Regions from separate parts of the Homo sapiens genome. Here region 2 is linked to region 1. Evidence: promoter capture Hi-C in human tissues and cell types (Jung and others, 2019). All regions are on one chromosome and are shown on one strand. The core of a region is centred on a gene start or on the middle of the fragment in contact, and the rest is flanking DNA. Distances in the headings are between cores, read along the strand shown.

Evidence for each region. Contacts are between HindIII fragments. The study calls those that stand out against the background at their distance.
Region 2: a contact is called between a fragment that was not itself captured here and the fragment with the promoter of BAZ2B in region 1, in 1 of the 25 tissues and cell types used here (dorsolateral prefrontal cortex).

What each region holds. Positions count from the first base shown.
Region 1 is chr2:159,614,043-159,618,318 of GRCh38, forward strand. It overlaps BAZ2B (bromodomain adjacent to zinc finger domain 2B), which reads right to left and starts at 2,506. Exons shown (of 37, transcript NM_013450.4): 1 at 2,200-2,506. It overlaps BAZ2B-AS1 (BAZ2B antisense RNA 1), which reads left to right and starts at 1,252. Exons shown (of 2, transcript NR_110588.1): 1 at 1,252-1,411; 2 at 1,708-4,000. RefSeq lists enhancers at 457-985, 2,042-2,568, 2,196-2,275, 2,526-2,595. The HindIII fragment of the contact is 5,037 bases long and covers 1-4,276 here.
Region 2 is chr2:158,976,483-158,980,758 of GRCh38, forward strand. All of the region lies in intron 1 of TANC1 (tetratricopeptide repeat, ankyrin repeat and coiled-coil containing 1), which reads left to right. Among named protein-coding and RNA genes, the nearest start is that of TANC1, 10 kb to the left of the region's middle. The HindIII fragment of the contact is 3,973 bases long and covers 463-4,276 here.

The DNA.
Region 1 (4,276 bases), core at 1,256-3,755:
AAGAGAATGCAAATTAAATACAGACAGTTTCATGTCCTTGTTAGAAGAGATGTAAATATGCTGACTGAAAATGACTACAGGAGACAGAATTCCACTTTCCCATTCAATATACAGTGCCTCTTATTTATATACTAGTCAGTGTATCATTAAGCTTGGTCATGTGACCAAACCAACTTTTGTGAGGCGAAAAACTATGTTAGACAAGCAAATTAAAACAGTGCTAGTTTTTGTTTATCTGTTCATAATGGCTGACAAAGAGTTTATAGCTAGCGATTATAAAATAACTTTTAAAATCAATTCTGCCTCTTAAATACTCAATAATTGTTTGACTTAATATCTGCTACTAAATTTTAAAGTATCCATTATCTTAAGGTATTTTCCATAGTCATTTCTTTTCAAAATGTAAATAAATAATAGAAAAAGAAAACCCCAGAACATTTTATTAGAAACGGGGAGCCAGATAATCTAAAATAACCATACATAAATATTAACCAAGCTAATTTTCAAAAAATCCATAAGGGAGAGTGGAGCAAATAAGAAAGGGAATATACTGACTACAGATAACAGTTGAAACCTTTAAATTAAAAAAAAAAGTACACAAAAACCAGATAAATAACAAATGACGCACAAGTTTTTTACCATTTTTTGCATATAATCTTCCACCTGTTACCAAAACATACAATACGCAGACTTCGTATACTGATTTTGAGAGCAAAACACAAAAATAAGCCACACAACTTATCAGTAACCTGTAAGTTACACAATCCTATAAAACAGGAGAAAAATTAAGCAAAAAATTTACTCTTGGGAAAATTTCTCCGTAAAGTTTACATGACGTCACTGGGCCCCCTGAACATTCCCTAAACTTTGAGACTTATCCAGACACACTTCCTAATACTTCTTTCCTTTCCTCAAAAATAAAAAAGAGAGAGACTTGGGAATAAAATTGCCCAAGATGGCGAAACGCTTGTTGTTTAGAGGGCAGGAAAAAAAATGGAGGATATTGTAATATACACAAAGGGATAAATTTCAACAACTCGGCCAAGGACTGCAGCTGCTTCCCTCTTTATAAGGAAGCAACAGACAAAAGATAAATACAGAGGGAGAAAGAAAAGAAGAGAAAATCTCCCAAACAACAGAGCCAGCTCTGACTCTTCAAACACTTCCTTCCCCTTCTCAAATCCCAATTCTGGGGTTCGTGAAACTACTTAAAGGGGAGGGAGCCGCGAAAGAGAACGGGGGCTGGGGGGAGGGGTAGCGACAAGAAGATTAAAAGAGGGAAGCAGAGGAGTTGGGAGCTGGCGGTCGTTCCCGGGGAAGAACTGCTAAAACATGAGACCAAGGCACAGACCTTACTGTATGAGAAGCAATGCTCCTCAAACCTTCTGCGTGCTGACATAGACCTTCCCAGGTATCCAGATCTTTTCCCAATCCCACCTGCCCCACCCCCACCCCCGCTCATCTTCAGTAAACTCAGAGCCTCCAGCTACACACGGGAGAGCTAGAGGCCCAAGCCGGGGAGTGGGGGTGGCAGACGCAGCTCGTCAGTCCGACAGGGAAGAGGGGGCGGAGGCAAAAAAGGGCAGCAGGAGGCGGACGGGGGTGGGGGGTGATCCAGAAACTACCCCGGCAGGGAGTGGGGGAGCAGCGGATATTCCGGGGTAGGAACGGCCATCGCAACGCTGACAGAGGTTGTTTTTTAAGAAGCAAAACTGTTGGCGGCGACCTGAGCGCTGGAAGCCGAAGGGGAAGAGGAAGGAGACGCGAAGCCAGGGCGGCCGGCACAAAGGCGGCGGACTCGCGGCGGCAGCGCCTGCCCGGCCGGGAGCACAACCCACGGCCCTACTCCAGCGAAGTCCCGCACCGGCTTCTAGGAATAAAGTTTACGTTCTCCTGAGGCCGCACCCCCCACCTCCCACCCAGGACGGCACATCTCCGTGTCCTCCTCCCCCAAACTCCACTCGGGACCCCGAGAACCACCCCAGCCTTCCGGCCACCACAACAAAGAGCCGCACCGACCGGCGAGGATAAACAGCGGCGGAGGGCGAGAGGGCGGCGGGGCGAGCGCCTCCACGCAGCAACTCCGGAGTCCCCCGCTTGCCCGAGCGCAGTTTCTCCGCTGCTGTTTCCACCGGCTTTGTAACACTGGGAATTTACATCCTCACCCGCACCCCTCACGCCCGAGGATTTTAAACTCACCTTTACTCTCGAACTGAGAGTTGCGGTAGATGGGATTTTTGCCTTTTCCCCAGATGGTTGAAGGTTAAGATTTTTGGAAACCCCACCACCTCCTTATTTCTATTATTATTTCTGCAAGAAAAGTATAAAGAGAGTTGTAGTGGAGGTGAGATTTGTGATCGGGAAAGCCTTCGACTCCCTCCTTCTCCGTCTTCCGCCTCTCTCTCTCTGATTAGTTCCTATCCAGCAGCAGATTGAAGCAGGAGATGATTCTTCTCAAGGTTTGTTCAGCAGCTTCACTTCTAGGCGAAGGCTTCATGAACCAAGTGACGTCAACCAACAAGGCTTCTCTCTCTCTCCTCTCTCTAACAATGAAAGTTGCTGTTAACAAGGGAAAAAAAGAGAGAGAATTGTTTATACCATTTCAGTTCCAATAATAAATGACCTATCAGCTCCTAAAGGAGCCAAGGGAGGGGGTTGCTTCTTCTTTCCAAGAATACTGTAGCTTTGAGTTTGCACCGTTCCTTGTCCCAGGAAAAAGTTAAGAAACTTAAAATGTTTTGTTTTGCTTTTAAAGAAGACAGGACAGAAAACGGGATTTAAAACTTAGTTTTTAAAAAAACAAAAGCTACAGAGTAGGGAGCATAGGTCAACCATCTCCACCTAAATTTTTTTTGTTCCTAAACTCAGAATTCTACAACCCAACTAAATTAATATGCCAAGATTTTGCGGATGTTAAAACTCAAAAAAAGCAGTATGCAAGACGGTCCCGGGGTAAAATTCTACTGCCTTTCCACGGACAAGTTAAACTGGCTGTAATGTTTATGCACTAAGTTAAAATAAAATTTAAATAAAAGACGTTAAAATAGTCGTTTTAAAGTTATATGCACACACTGTAAAAGGTAATCTCGATAGCTTTTTTTCAAGTTTCTGAGAGATTAGAAAAAAAGCATAGCAAATTGTAGGCACTGAACACTTTTTAAAAATCAAGTTATGAGTAAGACTGGTAGCCCTTTGCTCCTTTAAACTACAAATGCAGTCATATGCTATGGTCTACCCCCAGAATCTCTTCCAACTTTGTTTTTACCCTTCCACTCCCCCAACCCCAATTCCCAAATCCTGCAACCAATCAAGTTAAACTAAAGATACAATAGGCCCCATTCCCTCCCGCACCCCATCCTATAGATTCCTAAAAACAATTTTTTTAAAAGCCTTAATCTTGATAACACTTTATTAGCCAAGAAGATACGTATTTTTTTTTTTAGAAGTTCGTTGAGGTACCGTTTTTTCCCTCCAGAACACAAGAAAGTCTCAAAGTTCATATAATTAAAAATTGCATAATTTAATTTTCAGGATGAAGAGTAAGTAAAAATTAAGCTATCGGAGAATAATTTGATCATCTATGTATATTTTATACATATGTGGATAAATGTATCTTAAAAGATGCTATTGTTTTATGTTTCCTCTTCAGCCACTGGCTGTGATTTTAATTGTGCTGGAGGATCTTCATTAGTATTAACACATGGGGAGATTTCACAAAGCTGCTTCATTAGGAAAAAAAAAAAGCTTGGCAGACTCGGTCTTTTTGCATGCACTGAGAATGTCAGCCTTACCTCGGTCATTTGTAACATAATAAGTGCAAGTACAATGATTGCAATGCAGGAGCACTGGGGGAAGGGCAGAAATACTGCCTGTCTAATAGGGATATCTGAAAAGAAGGCTGCTCATTACAGAGTAAAATGTATGCTAAAAATTAGTGAAGATGATGTCTCAGGAGACTGATGCTAAATAAATTAATGTGCTGATATGTTTTTAATTATTATTTTTGTAGTAGTTTATTTCATTCTCAGGATTCACATTGAGCAGCAAAGCTGTGCTAGCACTTATTGATTTTTTTTCCCTGCCACATTCCCGGAATACAGATTTTAATCATTTCACTACACCACACTCAGTAATTTCATTAAAAACTGGAATCTTCCATCCCCAGAAAAGCATTTAATTTCAATGACATACAATTTCTCTTTTAGCAGCAAACTGTCTCTACAGTAAAAACTGGCCTAAGGTTCAAATGCATAATTTAATCCTGAGTTTTCCATGC
Region 2 (4,276 bases), core at 1,199-3,698, 640 kb before region 1:
AAAGAAAGTGTAATGATAATGATATAAGTATAAAGGAACAAGAAAATGTTCTTATGAGTTTAGAACATGACTTTTAAAACAAATTTGACAAGAAGGTGGCTCAAAAATTATGTATGGGCTGAGCGCGGTGACTCATGCCTGTAATCCCAGCACTTTGGGAGGCCAAGGCGGGCAGATCACCTGAGGTCAGGAGTTTAAGACCAGCCTGGCCAACATGGTGAAACCCCGTCTCTACTAAAAATACAAAAATTAGCCAGGTGTGGTAGTGTACACCTGTAATCTCAGCTACTCGAGAGGCTGAGGCAGGAGAATCACTTGAACCTGGGAGGTGGAGGTTGCCGTGAGCCAAGATTGTGCCACTGAACTCTAGCCTCGGCGGCAGAATGAGACTCCGTCTTGAAAAACAACAACAACAACAACAAAATTATGTTTGGATTTGTATTATTAATAAAAATGAACTTAAAAATACTGTTTGACTCCCATCCTTTAAAAGTTTTAAATGTTGTATAATGTATATACTACATTCATGTGTGTGTATACATACCATTCATAACTAGTTTTAATTACACATAAATTAATACAATTTATAATATGTTAGTATATATGTTATAAATTTTTTCCCCTGAAATTCCTGAGCTTCAATACGTTTTTAAAATTTTTTACTTTTTATTTTTTTAGAGGGAGTCTTGCTCTGTTGCCCAAGCTGGAGTACAGTGGTGTGATGATAGTTCACTGCAGCCTCCAACTCCTGGGCTCAAGTGATCCTGTCCCCTCAGACTCCCAAGTATCTGGGACTACAGGTGTGCACCATCACACCTGGCTTAATTAAAAAAAAATTTTTTTTTTGAGATGGAAACTTTCTCTGTTGCCCAGGTTGGAGTGCAGTGGTGCTGTCTCAGCTCACCATAGCCTCTGCCTCCTGGGTTCGAGTGATTGTCCTGCCTCAGCCTCCTGAATAGCTGGGATTACAGGTGTGCACCACCACACCTGGCTAATTTTTGTATTTTTCATAGACATGGGGTTTCACCATGTTGGCCAGGCTGGTCTCAAACTCCTGAGCTCAAGTGATCTGCCCGCCTCGGCCTCCCAAAGTGCTGGGATTACAGGCATGAGCCACCGTGCCTGGCTAATTTTTTTTTTTTTTTTTAACTGATAGTCCTGCGTGATCAAAAAAGCTTTGATACCACAATTTAAGTCACTTAGAGTTAGGTATTTTTGTTACTTGCAGCTGAAAGCATCATACCTGATATAAGGACAGATAAGAGTAGTAGCTGTCCCTGTTTTATTCTTAGCTTTCAAGAATCTCTGTGATCTGGACCCTAACTTGTTTGCAGGCCCAGCTGTCCTCTCCTTGTCTCTGCTAATACCACTGAACTCCTGCCCGTCCCTGATACTTTGTTTCAATTTTGCCTCTTCCCTCACCCTACCACCACCACTGAAATTTTGACTTTCAAGGGCTAGCTTAAATAAATATTGCTTTCTTATGAACATTTTTTCTGATTTACTCCCGCTTCCACATTTCAGTTTTTCTTTCCTTTTAGTCTCCCTAGTACATTGTACATTCATTATAATGTCTTTCTCTGTTTGCTTTTTATTATTAAGTTGTTCGCCTATTGGCTTTGCAGATGGGTTGTAGGCTTTTTGATGGTAGGGGGTCCTGTCTTACCTTTCTCATTTAAAAAGAAAACAATCTGTTTCTCCTTTGGGAGAAAGGGAGACAGAGAATCCACAGTTGTTAAACATCACTCTGGACTTGTTACTCTGGGGTGGGTCTCGCCTCCAGCCTTCTGGCAGCCTTAGGAAGGCAGGGAGCTCCATGTACATGAAAGGAGATTGAGGGCAGGGAGCTCACAGAACCAAGACAGCAGGACCCAGGATTCAGACCTGGAAAATTTTTATTTCCTGGCTGGTTTGTGTGCCCTCATGCATGTTATTTACAGTGCCATGTTCTTTCACATGGGAACACTGACACAGGTGAAATGGGAGGTTCCATAGGATGATAGTGCAAAAACATTAAAGACAATCCTAGCAGATGCAGTGAGTTCAAGGGAGAGTCCTTGTGGAGTAACACGAAAGGCCTGGTGGATGAGATGTATGAAGATCTAAATGCCTGCAGATAGTGAGCTGTCTGCAACTACCACAAAGCAAAATCATGGGCGATAACTCCCCAGGGTAGGATCTGGCCTGAGCATCCCCACTGGGAGATGGGAGGTGATGGGCTCTGTAGTGCTTAGCTGAATAGAGTTATCTATGTCAGTATTCCCTCTATGCAAAGATAGTTGAGAGTTCACAAGTTGTAGGCTTTCAAGTTGAGCTATGTTAGATATATGCTCCCCTGATGGAAGACAGACATGTCTCCAGGGTTTTGAGGGTCAAATGACAGAATGTATATAAAGTGTTTTGAACATTATAAATTGCCTCCTTAGAGGCAAGGGAACATCAAATTTGGTTGTTTTCTTGCATCAGAGACTTCTAGCTCAGATTTCTTTGTTGGCCATTTTTAAGGGCATTTCCAATGAGTTTTTAAGTGTAATGAGTTTTTAAGTGTTGGGGTTCTTAAATGGAATATGATATAATTTTTTTCAGATGAACTGCAGATATTACTTAAAATCTTGCTGTGAAACTTTCACCTGTGGAGTAAGTAGAATTCATGATTAAGGTGAATCTCTTTTGGGATCCAGTTCAGTTTTTCCAAAGGATCTGTTTATAAGCATAGGACCACTTAGCTGAGTGTGGTTGCTCATGCCTATAATTCTAGTACTTTGGGAGGCTGAGGTAGGAGGATCTCTTGAGCCAAGGAATTTCAGACCAGCCTGGGCAACATAGGAAGTCTCTGTCTCTACAAAATTTTTTTTTAAAAATTAGCCAGGCATGGTGGTACCATGCCTGTGGTCTCAGCTACGTGGGAGACTGAGGTGGGAGGGTCGCTTGAGCCTGGGAGGTTGAGGCTGCAGTTAGCTGTGATTACAGCACTGCATTCTAGCCTTGGCGACAGAGCAAGTCCTTATCTCAAAAAAAAAAGAAAAAAGAAAAAAAAAAACTTACCGTTTTCATAAAGATGGGAATCTGTGGGGCTTTTATTTCTGGTCCTGGAAACCCTAAGTACCAACTGAAAGACTCAAAAGAGCTTTGATTTCAAGGTTTTTTGTTGTTGTTGTTCTTGGCTACTGTAAATCCAGTAATTTATTTTCATGAGTCTTTGGAAAGGGTTAGGGAAAGCTTTGAAATATCTTAAGGTAGTTTTGAAAGTAAAAAGTAGGTATGGTTTGACAATTTGAAATTTGTTTCATTGTAGATTCCCAAGGCAATGGGTTTGAATAAATTAAGTTAATTCCATTTCAAAGAACTTTTGCAGTGGGATTTCATATTGTAGAAAGAGTCTGACTTATAAATCAAAACATGTTAAAGAGTAAACATATTTATAGATGCAAAAGACATCAAAACAGTGAGTGGCTCCTAAATTGCAAATAGATGCAATTGTGAAATTCTTATTCAGGGGTTGGTGAATCATCCATGTAACTTAAGAGGGCCTTATTTTTCTTAGGATTTATTTAAGTAAAGCAAGAATTCCCAAAATGCATTCTGGGGGAAACTGAGTCTTAGGAAGTTAACAGGTGTTACGCAGGGAAAAAAGTCCTGTGGTCAAATAAGTGGGAAAATCTGGGTTAACCAAAGTAAACCAGGTATTTTTGTTTTTAACTACAGGACTTTTGAGCACCCTTAGATCTAGTGTTCATTATAAATATCCTGGAAGGGAAATAGAGTAGTCAGTGTTTTCCAAACACATTGAATTGTAGAAACTTTTTTTTTTTTCCAGAACATTTTTTGGCCAGAGAACAATGTTTGTTGGGTTATCTAATTTGTTGAAATACTTAAAAATCAAATCGCAGACATCATGTAATTTTGCCTGACTAACTTTGCTATGCATTTCTAACTTAGGACTTAAAAAAATCACCACCCCATTATCACTTTTAATACAATTAACAATAATTTAAAAATATTATCTAATTTGGGCTGGGCGCGGTGGCTCACACCTGTAATCCCAGCACTTTGGGAGGCCGAAGTGGGCAGATCACGAGGTCAGGAGATTGAGACCATCCTGGCTAACACGGTGAAACCCCGTCTCTACTAAAAATACAAAAAATAGCCGGGCATGGTGGCGGGCACCTGTAGTCCCAGCTACTCAGGAGGCTGAGGCAGGAGAATGGCGTGAACCCAGAAGACGGAGCTTGCAGTGAGCCGAGATCATGCCACTGCACTCCAGCCTGGGCAACAG